2 separate regions of the Homo sapiens genome follow, and region 2 is linked to region 1. Evidence: promoter capture Hi-C in human tissues and cell types (Jung and others, 2019). All regions are on one chromosome and are shown on one strand. Each heading gives the region's core, a stretch centred on a gene start or on the middle of the fragment in contact. The rest is flanking DNA. Distances are from core to core; before and after follow the strand shown. Region 1 holds the start of DBT (dihydrolipoamide branched chain transacylase E2). Region 2 overlaps CDC14A (cell division cycle 14A).

Region 1 (5,382 bases), core at 1,299-3,798:
AAAACTACAAGACCACTGGAGGCATATAATCCAGTTAAGAAGGGCCAAGACACCTCCAGTTGAGGGCAGGGTGGAAAAATCATGACTAGATTTCTTCAGAGAGAATTACAGGCTCAAATCAAGAGAAACTGGGCCAGGGGCAGTGGCTTACGCCTGTAATCCCAGCACTTTGGGAGGCCAAGGCAGGAGGATCACCTGAGGTCAGGAATTCAAGACCAGCCTGGCCAACATGGCAAAACCCCGTCTCTACTAAAAATACAAAAATTAGCCAGGCATGGTGGTTCGCGCCTGTAGTGCCAGCTACTTGGGAGGCTGAGGCAGGAAAATCACTTGAACCCAGGAGGTGGAGGTTGCAGTAAGCCGAGATTGCACCACTGCACTCCAGCCTGGGCAACAGATCAAGACTCTTCTCAAAAAAAAAAAAAAAAAAAATTAAGAGAAACTGGTTTGAGGGTTCAGTTCTAGAGGCTGGAGAGTCTGACCTGCTTTGAAGCTTTACGGCAGACACTGTGAGAAGACTAAAGACAAGCTTTTCTGCTGGGCATGGTGGCTCATCCTGTAATCCCAGCACTTTGGGAGGCCAAGGCAGGCGGATCACTTGAGGTCAGGAGTTTGAGACCAGCCTGGCCATCATGGTGAAACCTCGTCTCTACTAAAAATACAAAAATTAGCTGGGCATGGTGGCGTGTGCCTGTAGTCCCAGATATTTGGGAGGCTGAGGCAAAAGAATCGCTTGAAACTGGGAGGCAGGGGTTGCAGTGAGCCAAGATCGCACCACTGTACTCCAGCCTGGGTGACAGAGAGAGACTCCATTTCAAAAAAAAAAAAAAAAAAGACAAGTTTTTCTAAGCTCCCTTGTGCTAGCCGGGGCCATGTAACACAGTTCTGGCCAGTGAGACTGGAACCTCCTCCTCTTCCACCTTCCTGCCTTCAACATAAAAGAAGAAGTCGTAGCAGCCCTCTTGTATACAGTAGGAAAAGGACAAATGAACTACTAGGGAAATGACGACATTGATAATCATAAGCCACTTAATGTGAGCTGACATCTAATTGGGGATGCTCTGTATGCATGGATACTTAATTTCCTATTTATTGGTTGGGTTTTTAATTGCAGCTGGAAAACATCACGTACATATGAAACTGGAGATTTCCAGGACAGTAGGATATATGGGTTTGGAGTAGACCTGGTTGGAAGACTGGGGAACTTTAGGACTCATCAGCATAGATGGTAACTAAAGCCAAAGAGTGGATGGGATAACCCAGAAAGTGGGAAAAGTGCAGAGGGCCAAAGTCAGAGCCCTTTAGAAAAAGCAATATTTAAAAGGCGGGAAGGGAAACAGGATATTGGGATGAAGTGGCCAAAGATGAAGAAAGAATAATATTGGGAAACTGGTGTCACAGAAAACAAGAATGGAAAGCTCTAGAAAGAAGAGAGACCAATATGTGTTAAGTGTTGCTGAGAAGAGCTCTCTTCTCCTGGTTATCTCTTACTTATCCTTCTTACATCTCAAGTCATACAGTATCCTCTGGGAACTCCTCTGACCCCCAAGTCCACCATAGGTGTCCACTCCTGTGTGTTCCTGTAGTTCTAGGCACTTGTCCCATCACAGTACCTCTCATGCTGGGTTGTAATTTCTATCTGTCTCCCTCTCCTTTGTCCTCCACCACAAGGTTGTAATCTCTTGAGAAGGAAGATATGATGTCTATTTCATATTTGTATCTCCAGTGCCTAACACAGCACTGGTACATAGCAGGCTCTTGAAAGTTTTTGTAAGATCGGGGTCACCAAGGCAGGAGCATCTAGGGAAAGGGAGAAGAGGCAGGAAGAAGAAACACTAAGCAAATAGGGGTAACAAGTATCATTACCGGTATGTGTCAGTGCTTGGTGCTAAGACTGGGAGAAAGAGAAGGAAGTGCAGGGGAGATGGTGATGGGTCACAGCCTTGGTGACAAAAGGGTAGGAATGATATGTGGTGCGGACATAGAAGTACAAGGCAAAAGAGTGACGCCGAGCTGCTCAGTTCTTCGGAAGCAGGGACCCCTGCTGATATTCTATAACTTGAACGGCCTCTTCCTCTACACACTGTAGATTCCTTGAGGGTAGGGGTCGTGTTACCAGTGTTTGGCATACTGTGGGTACGCAATAAATGCTAAACGAATATATCTCTGGATCCACAGCGCCTATCACAATGCCTGGGCACCTGGAAGGCGCTCAATAAAACGCTAGCTGGGCCTCGGGGTACAGATGGAGCAGGACGGCTGAGTCGCTGCAGAAGCGCTTCCAGGTAAGGGGAGGGAGTGGGTTTCCACTCCAGACTGGTCGACTCGCTCCGTTCTCTGCCCTTTATTTTGCATGCATCCCTTCACCTCTCCATCACGCGTGCCCTGGACGCCTGGCACCGGAGGAGAAAGTAAAACACCACTCCTGGATGACTCCGGACAAATCACTCCTTCCCGGCCTCAGATCTGCCCAAACGTGCTTACCAGCTTCCCCGCATTCCTGCTCCAGGTTCTCAGCATACGGACTGCAGCCATCTTACCCCGGAAATGACAACAGTGCCGCAAACTGGAGAGACTCTCCTCGGCGCGGCCTATCAGGAGATGGGAAACGCGCCTCCCCCTGGGCGACCAATAGGGAGGGAAGAAACGAGCCTCCCACCCAACAGCCAACCAAGGAGTAGGGCGGAGCCTGAGCTAAACCCTAGGATCTGGGACCCAGCGGGGAGTGAAAAGAGCCTGGGGGACGGAGGCGGGGCAGAGGGCAGCCCAAATTTAACACTGCTGTGTAAATACAGATGCACCAAAGATAATCTTTTTAGTGTATGTGATGGGGAAAATAGAGAGTGTTAAGGAAACACAAAGAAAGGTACTTACCTCAAGAAAGTTATGTTGCAGTAGGACCTGAGCGATGAGTTGGAAAACATTTCCCCGTCTTCATCTTGTAGTGTAGCCGCCCCAAATACAGAAAATAGAATATTTCTATACGTTGTAGCAAGGCTCTGGACAACTAGTTGTTTCACAAGTCCATACAGCAGTACTTCCCAATGACTGCCTTTTTTACTCCCATTTATGTTTTTGATTACCAAAATTGGCTAATCAATTTTTTTCATGAAAGATGAACATTACCTAATGTCTAAAATAAACATGTTATCATCTTTCTTTTTACAGACTGCTATCAGATGCAGCTAACTAGCATATGCAATACATGTCACAGACACATGATCTTGATTTAGTTGTCTCTTAAAGAAATGTCAAATTCAGGTCAAGTGGAACTGGTAAAGAACAGATCAGAGCTTTCTTTTAAAAGGCAATCTTCCTCAGAGCAACTAGGAAACCAATTCCTGGAAATGTCCAGGATGACATTAGTCTGTTATTGCTTCTTACGTGGGAATGAAAATCTGCACAGATGTCTAAGGAATTACAGAGAAAAAAAACTGGAACAAATACATTTTAAATGCTCAACATTGAAGATTAGTGGTTATGAAACAAAATCTCAGGTATTTCACAACTTCATTGTTTAATATGACCCAAACACTTTTCCCCCTCATTTGCCATTTTATGTATTACACATCTACACACAAAAAATCAATGCAAACAATAAATCTTATTATCTTTTTTGTTTGTTTGTTTGTTTGGTAGAGATAGGGTCTCTTGGGCCAGGCGTGGTGGCTCCTGCCCATAATTCCAGCACTTTGGGAGGCTGAGGCAGGCAAATGGCTTGAGCTCAGAAGTTCAAGATGGGATCTCTCTATGTTGCCCAGGCTGGTCTCAAAGTCCTGGTCTCAAACTGCGATCTTCCCATTTCAGCCTCCCAAAGTCCTAGGATTACAGGCATGAGCCACTGGGTCCGGCCTAAATAGCTATCTTTCTCAGAAAATCTAGAGTAGTCAAAAGAATTTCAAGTTTTTACATTTCCTTAAAAATGTTTATAGACATTATTAATATATTTGATAATCCCACAAGCATGTGTTTGTATAAAAAGCAGTGGCAGTTGTACCTTTGAAGTGAATCATCTCCCTTCCAAGCTGCTGCTATACAACTTTCTTTGTCCTAATTTCGTTTTTAACTGTACCTGCTCCTCAGAAGATAACTAGTTTATTTTCCTTTACCGTCTTCTTATGTCAATGGATTCTTGCTTCTATATTCAGTATAATATGTGTCCTTATCTTTCATTCCAGCATCTGGAAAGAAATACACCATCTATTCCCTAGTTAATTCTTTTATTCGAGTTTGAAAGAAACAAAGACCCCATTTCTTCTCTTTTTTTAGATTTAAAAATGGCCAGTTATGACCCACCAATTCCACTCCTGGATAGCTACATAAGAGAAATGACAACAGTGTTCACACAAAGACTTGAATAGGAATAATCATAACAGCATAACAGCCAAAATCTAGAAACAGCCCAGATGTCCATTAACAGGTGAATAAACAAAATGTGGTACATCCATATTCTGAAATATTATTCATCCTTAAAAATGACTGAATTAGCGATAATTGCTATGACATGGATGAATGTCAAAAAAATATTATGCTAAGTAAAAGAATACAAGCACAAAAGATCACATATTACATTATTCCATTTAAATTAAATGTCCAGAAAATGTTGATTTATAGAGATGAAAAACAGATTAGTTTTAGTTATATTAGTTATATAATAAGATTATATTAGTATTATTAATTAATAAGGTTAGCATTAGAAAACAAATTCGCCTGGGGCTAGAGGTGGAAGGGGCAGTGATTGCAGAGGCAAGAGAGATTTTTTTTGTGGTGATGAAAATTTTCTGTTGCCACTTTGTGGCAATGATTGCATAATTCTGTACATTTACTAAAAATCTTTGAATTATACACTTAAGACAGGTGAATTTTATGGTATGTAAAGTACACCATAATAAAGCTGTTAAAACTGTGTTATATGAGACAATAATGAACATATGAATAAAAACAAATACATAAGTCTGGACGTGGTGGCTCATGCCTGTAATCCCAGCACATTGGGAGGCGAAGGCGGGTAGATCACGAGGTCAGCAGTTCGAGACCAGCCTGGCCAACATAGTGAAACCCCATCTCTACTAAAAATACAAAAATTAGCCAGGCATGGTGGCATGCGCCTGTAGTCCCAGATACTCGGGAGGCTGAGGCAGGAGAATTGCTTAAATCTGGGAGGCGAAGGTTGTGGTGAGCCAAGATTGTGCCATTGCACTCCAGCCTGGGCAATAGAGCAAGATTCCATCTCAAAACAATACAAAACAAATACATATGTCACATGATAATATAACAAAAACCCTTGAACCTATCACTCAACTTTAAGAAATAGAACCTATGGAAAAACACATTATGTAGGTTGTCTAAAAATAAAATACATTTTAAACTAAAAAAAAAAGA
Region 2 (5,382 bases), core at 1-2,500, 150 kb after region 1:
CGGAACTAAAAATTGGCAGTGGATCCTTAAAGAGAATTTTATGCCTTTCTTCGTATTGTTTGTATGTATTTACTTGTTGACAGTCTTGTAAGATAGTCAATAATATCCATTATACATATATCTCAGTTAAAATTTACATATATTAAATGTTGCTAGTTGGATAAGTGTCCGTTTTCTGGGGGAATCTTCTCTGGATACAAAAGACCTTTACCTTCGGAGCAGCCATGTAACTTACATGAGGCAAGCTAGGTAGGTAGGTATATTTTATCAAACAGAAGTCTTTAAGAGTGAAGGTGTTCCTGTTCCTAAAATGTGGAATCGGCCCTCTGTTAAGTGGCATTGACTGACTAATAAAAGTATTTTGTACTAAGACAAACCTTTTTCTCAAAGCCTTAGTTTTCTCATTTGTAAAATTTGGATAATACCTGAGTTTCCTTATCTGCTTCACAGGATTATTGTAAAGATCAAATATCCAACTGCCTGTTTGATAGCTCCATATTATACATCTAAATGATACCTCAAATTTATTGTGACAAAACAGAAGTTTTTATTCCTTCTCTCCCTAAATGTATTTATTTCCCAAGTCATTCCCTTTTTAGTAAGTGGACTACCATCAGTGACTTGCTAAATCAAAAGAGTAGTCATTTTGATTTCTTTTGTTCGCTCATCCCACATTCTACTTATTCGTAAGTTTGGTCAGCTCTACCTCTAAAACATATTGAATCAGAATGTATCTTTCCATCTCTGTTGCTATCACCTAGCCCAAGCCACTGTCATTGTTCACCTGGATTATGACCACAGCTTTATATGTTGTCTCCTTTTTATATTCTTGCTTCCCATTAATTTAGTTGCCATACAACTGTCAGAGTAGTCTTTTAAAATTGTAAATTAGATCACGTCATTACCCTGTTTCAAATCTGTTATTGCTCACTGATCTTGGCATAAAATTTATCCTTACCAATGCCATTAAGATCCTTTCTGATCTGACCCTCTCTACCTCTGTGGTCTCCTTGCTCAAGTTGCTCCCCTCATGCTGGACTTCTAACTGAAATTCCATGCTTGTTCCTACCAAAGAGCCTTGATATTTCTGTTCTATCTGGAATGTTCTTACTTCAGACCTCTGCATGCCTGGCTCTTTCTAATGTTACTTTCTCAGAGAGATTTTCTCTTAATTTCTACCCTGTTACCTCCACCCCTAGTCATCCTTTAGACCTTTGTTGCTTTATTTTCTTTACAGCATGCTACTATTTGAAATTACTTTGTTTATGCATTTACTTGCTTATTATCTCTTTCCCAGACTAGAGGGTAAGGACTTTATCTGTTTTGTTCGTCGCTGTGTGTGGAGGGTGATAAAATATTTAACAAGGGGTTAGGCCGGGTATTCACCCGTTGAGTTGGAAGCTGGGACAGGGTCCTGGAGGCTTCTTGCTTTGCTGAATCTTGGGGAAGTCTAGGGCCTAGGGGGTGGGCGTGGGTCCCAAGGAAGAGACTAGGATGGCCAGTGTGGAGTGGAGTGGTGTGCTGTGGGCTGCAGCTATTTACCAACTGGTATAGAACTATTTCAGTATTTGAACACTATCAATTTAGAGCTGTGCCTGGTATGTAATGGGTGCTCTGTAAGTATCTTTTGAGTGAATGAATAATGGGATGACAAAACATGAAAGAAAGAAGGTAATATATGGGAAACTCCTGAAAATAATGAAGTTGGACGTAAGGTATAAAGTGGTGTCTTCCCCTTTACCAGAATATTTGTAGTCATGACTGAGCCAACTTTGGTTTTTAAAGATACAGAATCAAAGTAAAGAGCATAGACCAAGGGTAGTAACAAGTATACAAAATTACATCACTACCTAGCCTTTTTTTAAAAAATAAACTTGTATTTTCCCAATTTTTTTGTGGTAAAATATACGTAACATGAAACTTGCTGTCTTAACCATTTTAAAATGTACAGCTCAGTGGCATTAACTACTTTTCAACTGTTGTGCCACAAACACCATGGCTTACTTTTGAGTGTGCCATCTTGTGGCACTTTTGGTTTCTCTGTTAGATAATGACTTCAAGTATTTCACAGCTTTTGTGTTTCTATTTCCTTATATCTAAGTGGGGGGAGACTTTTTATGCTTTCTCTCATAGAGCTGTCATAAGGATCAAAAAGGAGATAAAATATAGACCAAGCTTGTTTAACCTGCGGCTGGCTTTGAATGTGGCCTAACACAAATTCATAAACGTTCTTAAAACATTATGAGATTTTTTTTTTTTTTAAAGCTCATCAGCTATCCTTAGTGTTAGTGTATTTTATGTGTGGCCCAAGACAATTCTTCTTCTTCCAATGTGGCCCAGGGAAGCTAAATGATTAGACACCCTGATATAGACCATCATGTTCAGTGATCTTAAAGCCAGGGTTGCTGGAATGATGTGGGCACTGGAGACCACAGTGACACTTAGCAGATGCTAGGCACCCATTTTAGGGATGCCTCTACTAGTAGAGCATCTCTTCACCCCCTGCATTGTGACATTGTGCTCCTTGAGATGGAAGGCTCAGATTTAAGAAGAGACCAGCTTTGTCAGAAAGGTGTTTCCCTTCCAGGGCAACACTCAGTGCAGTTTTGAAGTTAGGATGTTTAGATCATTGTAGCATCTAAAACACTCTGATATGAGTTTGAAAAAGATGGCTTTTTAAAATTATGAGTATGAATTAATTAGGTTCTTGCCATGTGCTTAAAGACCAAGTCTTCACTAGTACCTGTGTTACTATATTGTTTTCAGTTTTGCAGGCCTAGGTCAAGGAGAATTTGGATCAGGTCACCGTGACTGAAGAATTGGAAAATAATATGTATGAGAAGATGTTAAAATAAGTGTGACTGTATAGCTTAGAAAATTAAGTTCAGAGTTAAAGAAATACAGTTTTTTTTTCTGTTATGTGGAGGATGCTTAAACAGAGGTGGTAGCCACATTATATACTTTCCTTACCCACTTGTTAAGTCTTTGCATTGCTAAATTAGAGGTCTACATTGTGGATTAACTGAGACTAGCCTGAACCAGATGTCATGTCTGAATTGGGAATAACAAGCCTGAGGTTTTTAGACTGTCTAACCATGTCTGTGTTGGCTATTTATTTTGTAGACTACACTTAAGACCTAAGTAGTTATACTCTACTGCTAAGTCTGTGACTAATTGCAAAGAAGCCATTCTCCATTTGGCTTAGTGGTTGTGAGCAATGACTTTAACATAGCCACAGGCTCACTGGGCTTTGAATCCAATTGTTAGTTGTATGCCCTGAGCAAGTTAACTTATCCAAACTCCTGTTTTTTTCATCTTTAAAATAGGCATAATAATACCCTATTTTACTTGCGGTGAGGACTGAAGGAGGTCATTTATATAAAGGTGTCATCGGTGCAGTGTCTGACGTTGTATGCACTTAGGAATGTCTGGTGGCCCTGGCAGGGAAGCTGTGTGGCCTTCCACAAAGTTTTCTGACCCAGTCTCCTACTTCCTATCACTCACTTTTGTGCGTAGACCCTTTGGGCTACCTCCCTGATGATCGGACAGCTACTTCCCCTCTTTCTGTCTGCCCATCTTCCTCTTGTCCATCATATTTTTCACTTAAATACTTCCTTGGCTCAGTAACAACACTCATATGGTTGTTAATCTGATTATTGCTTAGTATAATTCACTGGAAGGTAGGAGTATATTTCTCTCCAAGGATGTTATTTTAAGGGAATATTTTGTTTAAACCAAATGAATTTGTGAGATCTGTAGTCAGGTATTCATTAGTTCAGTAAATCTTTGTTTAGCTACTATGAGCCCTTCCTAGCACTATGGTAGGTTCTAGGGAATAAAATATATATACATATAAACAATGCCTAGCTTAAAATGTGGGACAGGTGAGCAATAAACAATTGTTTAAAGCGGGCAATAGGTACAATTGGGTAAATATGAATTTATCTAACAAATGTTTTTTTGAGGTATTTTCATGTAACAGGCCTTGTTCCTGGAGTTGAGGATACTAAGGTGAATGACTCCCTGCCTGTTGGTGTGGGTGTGGAGGGCTGGGTTCAGACCTGGAGAGAGGGGAGGTTCCAAGATGGTCAATCCCAGCAGGCCAGGTTGCTGAGGAACCATCAGACAGGGAGAATAGCATGAAGGTGATGATGCTTTTTCTGGTGGTAGGGGAGTGAAGGGAGGCTGGAAGAAAACTAGTTATTTTAAATTTTTAATTTAATTTTATTTTAAATGTCCGTTTTGAAAAGGGGATAATCTAATGAGAAGATAGGGGTGTTTTTTTCCCTTACAATTAAAAAAACTTTAAAAAGTGGAGTAACCACATTGTAGAAGAAATGTGGAAAAATTCTCTCGCAGTTCTAAACCTGAATTATTTATTAGGTGTGATTGCAGTGTAGTTTTTTGAGCCTTTTAAAATTTAGCCTATGTATGTTTTGCCATTTTGCTATTCAGGTGACCAAATAATATTTCATTTAGAGAGAATACCATTGTTTAACATTTTAGATTTCTTTCAAAATTTTTTATAATGTAACACATCTCTTTCTATATTATAAGTGTTTCTTTTCGTGGATTTTTGTCTTTAGAGTGCCAGAAATAGGGTAAATAATTTTAAATTTCAGAGTTTTTAAGACTCTTGGAGCATATTGCTATACTTAAGCAAGTTTATACTAAATTTGGTATTATGTGAAATCTCCAATTTCATGTAAACTTTGCATATTGGGTATGAACATTACAGTTTTAGAAATTTAATTGGTGAAAAATGCTACCTCATTGTTTTAGTAATCATTTTTTTGATTAATGAGGTTGATTATTCTCATGTTTTTATTTATAGATTTATTAACTGTTTGAAAACTTTGTGTTTTTATATTTGTTTCCTATATTTAGACCATTTTAGAGTGGATAAGTGCTATTAGCCTCCATTAAAAAAGTAAGTTAGCCAGGTACAGTGGTGGGAGCCTGTAGACCCAGCTACCTGGAGACTGAGGCTGGAGGATTGCTTGAGGCCAGGAGTTTGAGGTTGCAGTGAGCTGTGATCACACCACTGCACTCCAGCCCAGACCCTGACTCAAAAAAAAAAAAAAGATGAAGTCATTTTATCTGTGTCTATTTGTTTCAATAGATACAGACTACTAGAAATCATGCCCATCAGTCCAAGTTTCTGTAAAAAATTAGGAAGTCCATAGACCTTTCCTGCTGTTACTCATTAGAATGTCAGAATGCTCTATTAAATACTTCTGTATACCTGAATATAAATGTGCTTAATTGGAACTGCTGATAATGGACCTATTGATTTTTGAACATTAAGCCGTCTGCTGAGTATACAGAAATTTTAACAGAACAGTATTATTTAAAAGTGGTTACAGTGTGTGTGTTTAAATC

Evidence for each region. Contacts are between HindIII fragments. The study calls those that stand out against the background at their distance.
Region 2: a contact is called between a fragment that was not itself captured here and the fragment with the promoter of DBT in region 1, in 1 of the 25 tissues and cell types used here (pancreas).

Annotation. Positions count from the first base shown.
Region 1 is chr1:100,247,286-100,252,667 of GRCh38, forward strand. DBT (dihydrolipoamide branched chain transacylase E2) reads right to left here and starts at 2,549. Exons shown (of 11, transcript NM_001918.5): 1 at 2,485-2,549. The coding sequence starts at 2,535. RefSeq lists enhancers at 1,718-2,277, 2,278-2,837, 2,439-2,558 and a silencer at 2,669-2,768. The HindIII fragment of the contact is 17,632 bases long and covers 1-5,382 here.
Region 2 is chr1:100,394,785-100,400,166 of GRCh38, forward strand. All of the region lies in intron 4 of CDC14A (cell division cycle 14A), which reads left to right. Among named protein-coding and RNA genes, the nearest start is that of CDC14A, 45 kb to the left of the region's middle. The HindIII fragment of the contact is 8,031 bases long and covers 1-5,266 here.